Regions from separate parts of the Homo sapiens genome. Here region 1 is linked to region 2. The links are contacts of gene promoters, found by promoter capture Hi-C in blood cells and fetal thymus (Javierre and others, 2016). All regions are on one chromosome and are shown on one strand. Each heading gives the region's core, a stretch centred on a gene start or on the middle of the fragment in contact. The rest is flanking DNA. Distances are from core to core; before and after follow the strand shown. Region 1 overlaps ZNF805 (zinc finger protein 805). Region 2 holds the start of ZNF420 (zinc finger protein 420).

Region 1 (4,972 bases), core at 2,391-4,890, about 20 Mb after region 2:
AGATGGCAAAATATAACAGACATAAAGGCACCATTTATAACTTCATTTTTTTTACTGAAGTGGTGAGTTTGTTTCTTCTCTTTTTACATTACTAACAAGCCCTTCTGTGTGTTGGATTTCTTTCAGGTGACAAAGGAAAACCCAAGAGCACAGAACCTACCACCTGTGAGCTAGCCTTGTCTGAAGGAATCTCTTTTTGGGGACAACTAACACAAGGAGCTTCAGGGGACTCCCAGTTGGGGCAACCCAAGGATCAGGATGGGTTTTCAGAAATGCAGGGAGAACGCTTGAGACCAGGGTTAGATTCCCAAAAGGAGAAGCTTCCTGGAAAAATGAGCCCCAAACATGATGGTTTAGGGACAGCTGATAGTGTGTGTTCAAGGATTATACAGGATCGAGTCTCCTTAGGAGATGATGTCCATGACTGTGACTCACATGGATCAGGTAAAAATCCAGTTATTCAGGAAGAGGAAAATATCTTTAAATGCAATGAATGTGAAAAAGTGTTTAACAAGAAACGCCTGCTTGCTCGGCATGAGAGGATTCACTCTGGAGTGAAGCCCTATGAATGCACAGAGTGTGGAAAAACCTTTAGCAAGAGTACATACCTCCTGCAGCACCACATGGTCCACACTGGGGAGAAGCCCTATAAGTGCATGGAGTGTGGGAAGGCTTTTAATCGGAAGTCACACCTTACCCAGCACCAGCGGATTCACAGTGGAGAGAAGCCTTATAAGTGCAGTGAATGTGGAAAGGCCTTCACCCACCGCTCCACTTTTGTCTTGCATAACAGGAGCCACACTGGAGAAAAACCCTTTGTGTGCAAAGAGTGTGGCAAAGCCTTTCGAGATAGGCCAGGTTTCATTCGACACTACATCATCCACAGTGGTGAGAATCCCTACGAGTGCTTCGAATGTGGCAAGGTCTTCAAACACAGATCATACCTCATGTGGCACCAGCAGACTCATACCGGGGAGAAGCCCTATGAGTGCAGTGAATGTGGGAAGGCCTTCTGTGAGAGCGCAGCGCTGATTCACCACTATGTCATCCACACTGGAGAGAAGCCCTTTGAGTGCCTCGAGTGTGGGAAGGCTTTCAACCACCGATCCTACCTCAAAAGGCACCAGCGGATTCACACTGGGGAGAAGCCATATGTGTGTAGTGAATGCGGAAAGGCCTTCACCCACTGCTCTACTTTCATCTTGCATAAAAGGGCCCACACTGGAGAAAAACCTTTCGAGTGCAAAGAGTGTGGGAAAGCCTTTAGCAATAGGGCAGACCTCATTCGCCACTTCAGCATCCACACTGGAGAGAAGCCCTATGAGTGCATGGAGTGTGGAAAGGCCTTCAACCGCAGGTCAGGCCTCACAAGGCACCAGCGGATTCATAGTGGAGAGAAGCCCTATGAATGCATCGAGTGTGGGAAAACATTTTGCTGGAGCACAAACCTCATTCGACACTCTATCATCCACACTGGAGAGAAGCCGTATGAGTGCAGTGAATGTGGAAAGGCCTTCAGTCGCAGCTCGTCCCTCACTCAGCATCAAAGGATGCATACTGGGAGAAATCCTATCAGTGTAACAGATGTGGGAAGACCTTTTACAAGTGGGCAGACCTCAGTCAACATCCAAGAACTTTTATTGGGGAAAAACTTTTTGAATGTCACCACTGAGGAAAATCTTTTGCAAGAGGAAGCATCTTACATGGCATCTGATCGTACATACCAAAGAGAAACCCCACAAGTGTCTTCACTGTGAGAAAACCTTCTGTTGCCAAATGTCATTTGTCACCTAAGGAGTCATATTAGAAAATCACGCAGCTTAGAGCCTTATTCTCCATCCGAATTCATCCTGGAAAAACACCCAGTGGTTATTACGCACTTGGGAAAACCTTTAGCTCCATCTTTCTCATTAGTTTACAGTGCAATGTTATCTCAGGAATTTTTATAAACAGAAAGAGGTGACATAGAAAAGAAAATGAAATGCAGACACTGCTTTTATACTGTTGTCTTGTATGTACATTTCTGTCCTGTGTCAGGAAAGTTAGTAAGGGAAGGTCTGGAAACTTACTCAATGTCTTTGTTCTACAACATTGTCTCTTCTTAAGAAGCATTGTTTTTATGAGAAATAATGAAGCCTTGAGTTATGAAATACTTTTATATTTAAGGATTAAAAGAAACATGAATGCGCACATTTTATTGTACCACTTAATACTGTTTAGGTCTTTGATTTTTTAAAAAAATTCTTTTTTAATGGGTTTTAAACACTAACACTGAGAATTTTTCTTGATTCCCATCTGTTGGTTTACTTGATTGCTATAGCTGTATGGTAAATCTCAAAATTAGGTAATGTGATTTCTTTTTTCTTACTATTTTTATTTAAAATTCATTTAGCATTCCTAGTTTGACTTTCCATATACACTTTAGGATTGGTTTTTCTGTTTTTCAAATATTCTTGCTTGGATTTTGATAGAAATTGAGTTAAATCTATAGATCAATGTGTTGGAAATTGGCATCTTAGTCTTCCAATTCATGAACATAGCCTATCTTTTCATTATTTAAATTTTCTTTGATATATTTCATTACTGTTTTATAGTTTACACAGTATAACTCCTGCACATTTAAAATAAGAATTATAGCTGCATAGTTTTTTGAGTGATTGTAAATGGCATTGATATTTAAAGTTTCAATATTCACATGATGTTGGCTAGTATACAGAAACATTATTTTTTCAATCTTATTTTGCTGTCTTGCAACCTTCCTAAACTCATTATTTCTTGCCATTTCTTTTGGGAGAATCCTTAGGATTTTAAATATAGAAATGTCATTTGCAATTTGGGACAGTTTTATTTCTTGCTTCCCATCTGTATACCTTTTATTTGCTTTTCTCATGTTATTGTACTAGGTAGGATTTCCAGTGTGATGTTGAATACGAATAGTGACAAGTTATCCATGCCTTGTTCCTGATATTAGGGGGAAATGTTCAGTTTCTCATTATTATGATGTTGAAAGTTGCTTCCAAAGAGTTTCTCTATCGAGTTTAGAAAGTTTCCCTCTATTCCTAATTTGCTGGGATTTTTTTGGTTATTATTAATAAGTGTTGAATTTTGTCATATGCTTTTTCTCCACCAATTGATTTAATTATGTGATGTTACTTCTATAGTCAGTTGATATGATGTGTTACCTTGATTGAGTTTCAAGTATTGAACCAGCCTCACATCTTTGTGATAAGCCCTACTTGATCATGGAGTATAATTTTGTTTGTGTACTATGCTACAGTATTTCATTTGCTAGTATTTTGTTGAGGAAGCTTTCCTCTGATTTCATGAGTGATAATCTGTAGTTTTCTTTCTTCAACTGTTACTGTTTGGTTTTGATGTCTAGATGATAACTAACCTCCTAACATGAATTGGAAGGAATTCTCTTCTGTTTTTTTGGAAGATCATGTGTAGAATTGGTGTTATTTGTTCCTTTAATGTTTGGTAGCTTTCTCCAGTGAAGAAGTGGGACCTGGAGATTTTCCTTTTGAATGCTTTTTAATTATGTATTTATTTTATTTAATAGGTATAGAACTATTCAGAGTATTTCATATTGGATGAATTTTTATAGATTTTCTTAAGGAAGTGTTCATTTTATGTAAATGTTCTAATTTGTAGCATTCTTTGAAATATTTCCTTTTATCCTCTTGATGGCAGCAGGATCTGTACTTATGTTCCTTGTTGTATTCTTGATATTGGAAATGTATCACTTATTATTGTCAGTCTTTGTAGACATATGTCAATTTCATTGATCATTTCAAAGAAATAGCACTTTATATCACTGATTTTTCTCCAGTCTCTGTTCTTAATTTCACTGATATCTGCTCTGATGTGTATTGTATCCTTTCTCCTACTTGCTCTGGTTGTATTTGACTCAGTGGTTTCCTGACGTGGATGTTTAGGTTATTGATTTGAGGCTTTTTTTCTTTTTTAATATAAGCTTTAAGTTCTATACATTTTTCTTACACTGCTGTTAGTTTCATCCCACAAGTCTTAATATGCTTTTGATTATCTTACTCAGTTCTAAGATTGCCTGATTCCTTTTGAGACATCTTCTCTAACCCAGGAATTATTTAGAAGTATATTGTTTAATAGTGTTTGGAGTATTCCCTGCTATTTGTTATTGATTTCTAATTTGTTTTGCATTTGATGTTACTGTTGAAATTTGTTGACTTTTTTTCCTTATGACCCAGGATATAGGCTGTCTTGTTTTACATAGCTGCTTGAAAAGAATGTGTGTTCTCGGTCATTTGGTGGAGTTTCTGTAAAAGTTTGTATGATCCTGTTAGTTGGTGGTGTTATTTAGGTCTCCTGTATCCTTGCTGATTTTCTGTCTAGTATTTCTATCAATTGCCAAGAGAAGGATGTTGAAGTCCTGAGCTATAATTGTGGAATTACCTATTCCTCCTTTAAGTTCTATCAGTTTTTGCTCCACATAATTTAAAGCTCTGTTGTTTGGTATATACACATGTAGGTTTGCTTAGTATTCTTGGTGTATTGACCCTTTTATAATTAAGTAATGTCCCTTTTTGTTCCTGTTAATACTCTTATCAATTTTTATCTGATATTTGTGTGGTCAGTCTTACGTTTTGGTTAATGCTTGCATGATTTACACTTCATCATTTTTTTAAACCTTATCTATATCACTATATTGGGAGTAAGTTTCTTGTGAATGGCGTATATTTGGGCTGTGGTTTTATATCCAGTTTGCGTATCTTTTTTTTTTTTTTTTTTTTTTTTTGAGACGGAGTTTTGTTCTTGTTGCCCAGGCTGGAGTGGAGTGGTGCGATCTCCGCTCACTGCAACCTCCGCCTCCTGGGTTCAAGTGATTCTCCTGCCTCAGGCTCTTGAGTAGCTGGGATTACAGGCATCCGCCACCATGCCTGACTGATTTTTTGTATTTTTAGTAGAGATGGAGTTTCACCATGTTGGCCAG
Region 2 (4,805 bases), core at 1,647-4,146:
TCGAGACCAGCCTGGCTAAAATGGTGAAACCCTGTCTCCACTAAAAATACAAAAAATTAGCTGGGCGTAGTGGCAGGCGCCTGTAATCCCAGCTACTCGGGAGGCTGAGGCAGGAGAATCACTTGAACCCGGGAAGCGGAGGTTGCAGTGAGCTGAGAGCGCACCACTGCACTCCAGCCCGGGCGACAGAGTGAGACTCTGTCTCAAAACAAAAACAAAAACAAAAACAAACAAACAAACAAAAACAGAGAGAGAGGGAGAGAAATGACCTATAATGCTTAAGTTCCCTTTGACATTTACTTCTCCCCCTTTACCCTAAATCCTCTCTTCTCTCCCTAAAGGTTACCATTAGCAGGAGTTTTGTGTGTATCCCTCTATAAAATATATACTATTTTTATACTAATTATATCACATAGTATTCTAACAAATCCTTCTCAGTTCCTGCAGTCTACGTTTCTGATGGTCTTAACCTTTTTTAGCTTAAAGTACCTCTTTGTGAATCTGAAAAGCTGCCTATACTTTTTTTAAAAAAATCACATATCAACACATATAAAATGTCATAAGTTTAATATACAAGAAGCCCATCCACATGGAATCTATTCATCTCAGGTGAACAACTGTTTTTTACTTTTAAGTGATAGCTTCCTTTTTCTTGCAAGCACTCATCGTAACTATTCAAAAGCCAAAAGTAGTGACCCAGAATCACACAGATGCGGCTCAAGATCAATGCATGCTGTTCAATTTGAAACCAGAATGTGTCTGTCACCTCCTAAAAAAAAAAACAAAACCCAGTATATATCTCCCATATATAATTGGACATAATTCTTTTTTATTTTTATTTTTATTTATTTATTATACTTTAAGTTCTAGGGTACATGTGCACAACGTGCAGGTTTGTTACATATGTATACATGTGCCATGTTGGTGTGCTGCACCTGTTAACTCATCATTTACATTAGATATATCTCCTAATGCTACCCCTCCCCCTACCCCCACTCCCTGACAGGCCCCAGTGTGTGATGTTCCTTACCCTGTGTCCAAGTGTTCTCATTGTTCAATTCCCACCTATGAGTGAGAACATGTGGTGTTTGGTTTTCTGTCCTTGCGATAGTTTGCTAAGAATGATGGTTTCCAGCTTTATCCATGTCCCTATAAAGGACATGAACTCATCCTTTTTTATGGCTGCATAGTATTCCATGATGTATATGTGCCACATTTTCTTAATCCAGTCTATCATTGATGGACATTTGGGTTGGTTCCAAGTCTTTGCTATCGTGAATAGTGCCGCAATAAACATACGTGTGCATGTGAATTGGACATAATTCTTGCCTGACTTTGACCCACTCTAACTCAGTGCAATTTAATTATCTATATTTCACATAGCTATGCCTGATCACACACACAGGTTCATTCCCTCAAGAATTCTGATCACCAAATTTGCTATTCCAGTCACATTACCGGTAAGAGATCAATGTATTTGATATATGGTCTTGCAAGACCAAGTTTTATTAATTTTTTTCCCTCTGAAGGAGTGGTGAAATTATACTCTATCTTCTCTGTGCTGGAAGTTCACAAGTTTTTGATTATTCAAAAATCATAAAAGGCCAAGAGGTCTTGAAGTAAGTAAAAATAAGTTCAGGTTTACCAACAAACTCTACAGCCTTAAGTTACTTTCTGCCGGCCAAGGTTTTCTCATCAGAAAATGAGGACAAGTGTTTGACCTAGAATTTGGGAAATCTGACTAGTGCTGTACTGTGCTAAAATTCACTCTTCTTATGTATAACGTTGTTTTATTATTTTATTAGTTGATGGCCTCTCAACCGTACCCAGTAATAAGAGAAACTTTACCCTCTAATTAGAAAATAATGGATATCTACTTTTGGCCTGCTGTGGCAGAGGAAAAGGCAGTTACCCTAGGACTGGTTTTGAAATAATCTTTCTAAAAACAAAGAAAAAACTACGTTAATTTTGGATTCTTCCCGATAACACATATATTTGATCCAATAGAAAAATGATGTCTAAATTACTTGTCAGATAAATTGATTATCTTTTCCAGATTATTACATTACTATTTAAGGAAGAAATAACTTGGCCATAGTATTTTCACTGTCACACACGATCACACACAGCTCATTTGCTCTTGGCACCCTTACAGACACTGAAATACAAGCACAAAGAAAGCACGTTTATATAACACAGATCACCAGTTACTCAATTACGGCCACACACAAAAAAGCAGATATACATACAGATACCCTTCATAAGCAAACCACAATAGAGATCTGTGTAAAATCGTCTTACTCTGTTAGACGATTCTACACAGTTATAAAATCCCATTACTACGCAGCTTAAAGTACAAATCACCTCACACCCCACAGCAGGAAGAATCACACACAGGCAGAAACACAACCATACACACCCGGCCACGGAAAGACTCTCAGTCCACCTGGCATCTCCCATTGTCACACACACCCCAAGGGCCTGGGAGGGCACACACAGGGTCCTCTGCAAATCCGAGGTTCCGGCGGGTCCCCGCACCGGCCCCAGCTCCTCCCCCGCACCTGCCTGGCCGGCGGGTCCCACCCTCTCTCCTGCCAGGGGTAGACCCTGGGACCACTCAGCTCGCTCTCGCAGGCCCTGAGCGTCTGACGCCTGCGCACTGAGCGCGGGCGGGCGGGCACTCCCAGAAACCTCCGGGGCGCTGCAGGCGGGACAAGCAGGTTCCACAGGCCGAGCCCACGAGCCCCTCGAGGGGTGAGCGGCCCGGGCCTCCTGGCGTTCTGGCCGGCTAGCCAAGCGCTGGACTACATTTCCCAGAGGCACGGCGTCCGGAGCGCTGGACTACATTTCCCAGAGGCACCGCTCCCGGAGCGTAGCTTCATTTCCGTTAGTTTGCGAGATTTGGAGGCCTCGCGTGGGGAGAGGGCCGCGTCTGTGGAGGAGCTTGGCTCCGCACCTGCTGGGCTGGCGAACCCGAAATTGGGCTTGGAACCCGGGAGCCAGATCTTGGACCCTGAACTGCACCTCTGTCAAGGTAGGAGTGTCCGGGATGCCGGAGCGGACACGCGCGGAGAAAGCGTCGCTGGGGTTACTCGTGTGGCCGTGTCTCCGGTTTTGTGTGCAGGCTACAGCCTGCCTGGTATTGGCGACTGCCTGTGCATACACGACTGGACGTGTGTGGCTGTGGTTTTGTGTATGAGCATTTGTATGAGTGTGAGTTGTGACTCTGAGGGTGTTTGTGACTGTTTGCTTACCTGGCTGGGATATACTTATGTGACTGTGATTTTATGTGTGCCGCGTGTATAATTGGGGTTTGCCTGTGACTATGAAGTGTGTGACAGTTGTGACAAGAGTGTTTGGATGTTCTTGTGTCACTTTGAGGTTGTGTGTAAACCTGATATCGTGGGATGGATTTGCCAGTAAATTTAAGGTGTGTGACAGTGTTGCTGTGACACGGTGTTTATTACCGCGTGTTTCCCTGATTTCGTACTGGGTTGGGTGACTGTCTGATTGTGTGTGACTGTGGGGTTGTGTGTGCTGTTTTCATGACTGTGTAAAGAGACTAAAATTGCAGCTTTGAAAGGGTGTTTTTGGCGGTATGTGTCTCTGACAAGGTGCTTGGATGTAATTATATGCCTTGTACTTAATGGGATTTTGTTTGAGACAAGGTGGTCTAACAATGTAGCATAATTGGGTGATTGTGCCTCTAGCTGTGTAACTGTGGAAATGTGATTATGTGTGACTTTATGTGGCCATTTGTATATTCTGTGACCTTATGGGGGTTTAGTCCAGTACAGAAGTAAATTTCTTTTTGGTATTTCTGGGGTTCATTTGGGGCTGAGGTCTGCCTATGGATTGTGAGTCCCATGTGGCTCTGTGCTCCTCCCATGTGGCTCTGAGGACTTAAGGACTTTTTGATTTGACCACAGTGGCTGCCCTTTCATCCATGGCCTGTATTGCTTCATTTCTGTATCCATCCTCGGTTCACCTTGGGAAATGTAGTTACTTACGAGTTCACGACTTCTTCCCTGCGTCCTCTTGCCTTATAGCCTTAAGGGGATTGGGTGCAGGGAAGTGGCAAGAAGTAAGGAAGTCAGACATTTGGACACCTGAGTGATGAATAGGAGTTATTTGCAAGTTACAGACCTGGTCTTAGGATGAGAATTTTAGGGCTGATAATACCTTCAAGACAGCCACTGGATGCTGTGCGCGGTGGCTCACATCTGTAATCCCAGCGCTTTGGGAGGCAGAGGCGGGTGGATTACCTGAGGTCATGGTTTCACCATGACCTCTACTAAAAATACAAAATTAGCTGGGCGTGGTGGCGCATGCCTGTAATCCCAGCTACTTAGGAGGCTGAGGCAGGAGAATTGCTTGAACCCGGGAGGCGGAGGTTGCAGTGAGCCAAGATCAAGCCACTGCACTCCAGCCTGGGCAACAAGAGTGAAACTCATTCTCTAAATAAATAAATAAATAGGCCACTGGAAATATAATGGGACTCCAGGAGTGGGAATAGTTTCAGAGGGAGTGCTTTAGGAGACAGCCACCCAGTTCTGAACCTGAAGCACCCCACTGCAGGACTGTCTCCAGTGTACAGCTTTGAATACAGAAATAAATTCAAGCCCAAGACAGCTGTGACCTGGCCCTTCTTTCTGATACAGAAGGTAGAAGACTTATTCTAGTCTCCTCCTGACTTTTCTTTATGTTAAATGAGATTAAGAGGATGGAGGAAGAGGGTATGTTATAATTTAGCATATTCCCCAAGAAAGGCCTAATATCTCATTCCATTTTTCTTTTTCTGAGAG

Evidence for each region. The method cuts DNA at HindIII sites, captures the fragments that hold promoters and counts their contacts. A CHiCAGO score of 5 or more calls a contact.
Region 1: a fragment that was not itself captured here is called in contact with the fragment with the promoter of ZNF420 in region 2 in 1 of 17 cell types (total CD4 T cells); the score reaches 6.0 in total CD4 T cells.

The regions. Positions count from the first base shown.
Region 1 is chr19:57,252,947-57,257,918 of GRCh38, forward strand. ZNF805 (zinc finger protein 805) reads left to right here. Exons shown (of 4, transcript NM_001023563.4): 4 at 127-4,972. The coding sequence ends at 1,757. Among named protein-coding and RNA genes, the nearest start is that of ZNF805, 15 kb to the left of the region's middle. The HindIII fragment of the contact is 668 bases long and covers 3,307-3,974 here.
Region 2 is chr19:37,075,537-37,080,341 of GRCh38, forward strand. ZNF420 (zinc finger protein 420) reads left to right here and starts at 2,897. Exons shown (of 5, transcript NM_144689.5): 1 at 2,897-3,034. LOC105372390 (a long non-coding RNA gene) reads right to left here and starts at 2,661. Exons shown (of 2, transcript XR_001754095.2): 1 at 2,562-2,661; 2 at 1-769. RefSeq lists a silencer at 2,353-2,642 and an enhancer at 2,733-2,972. The HindIII fragment of the contact is 14,557 bases long and covers 1-4,805 here.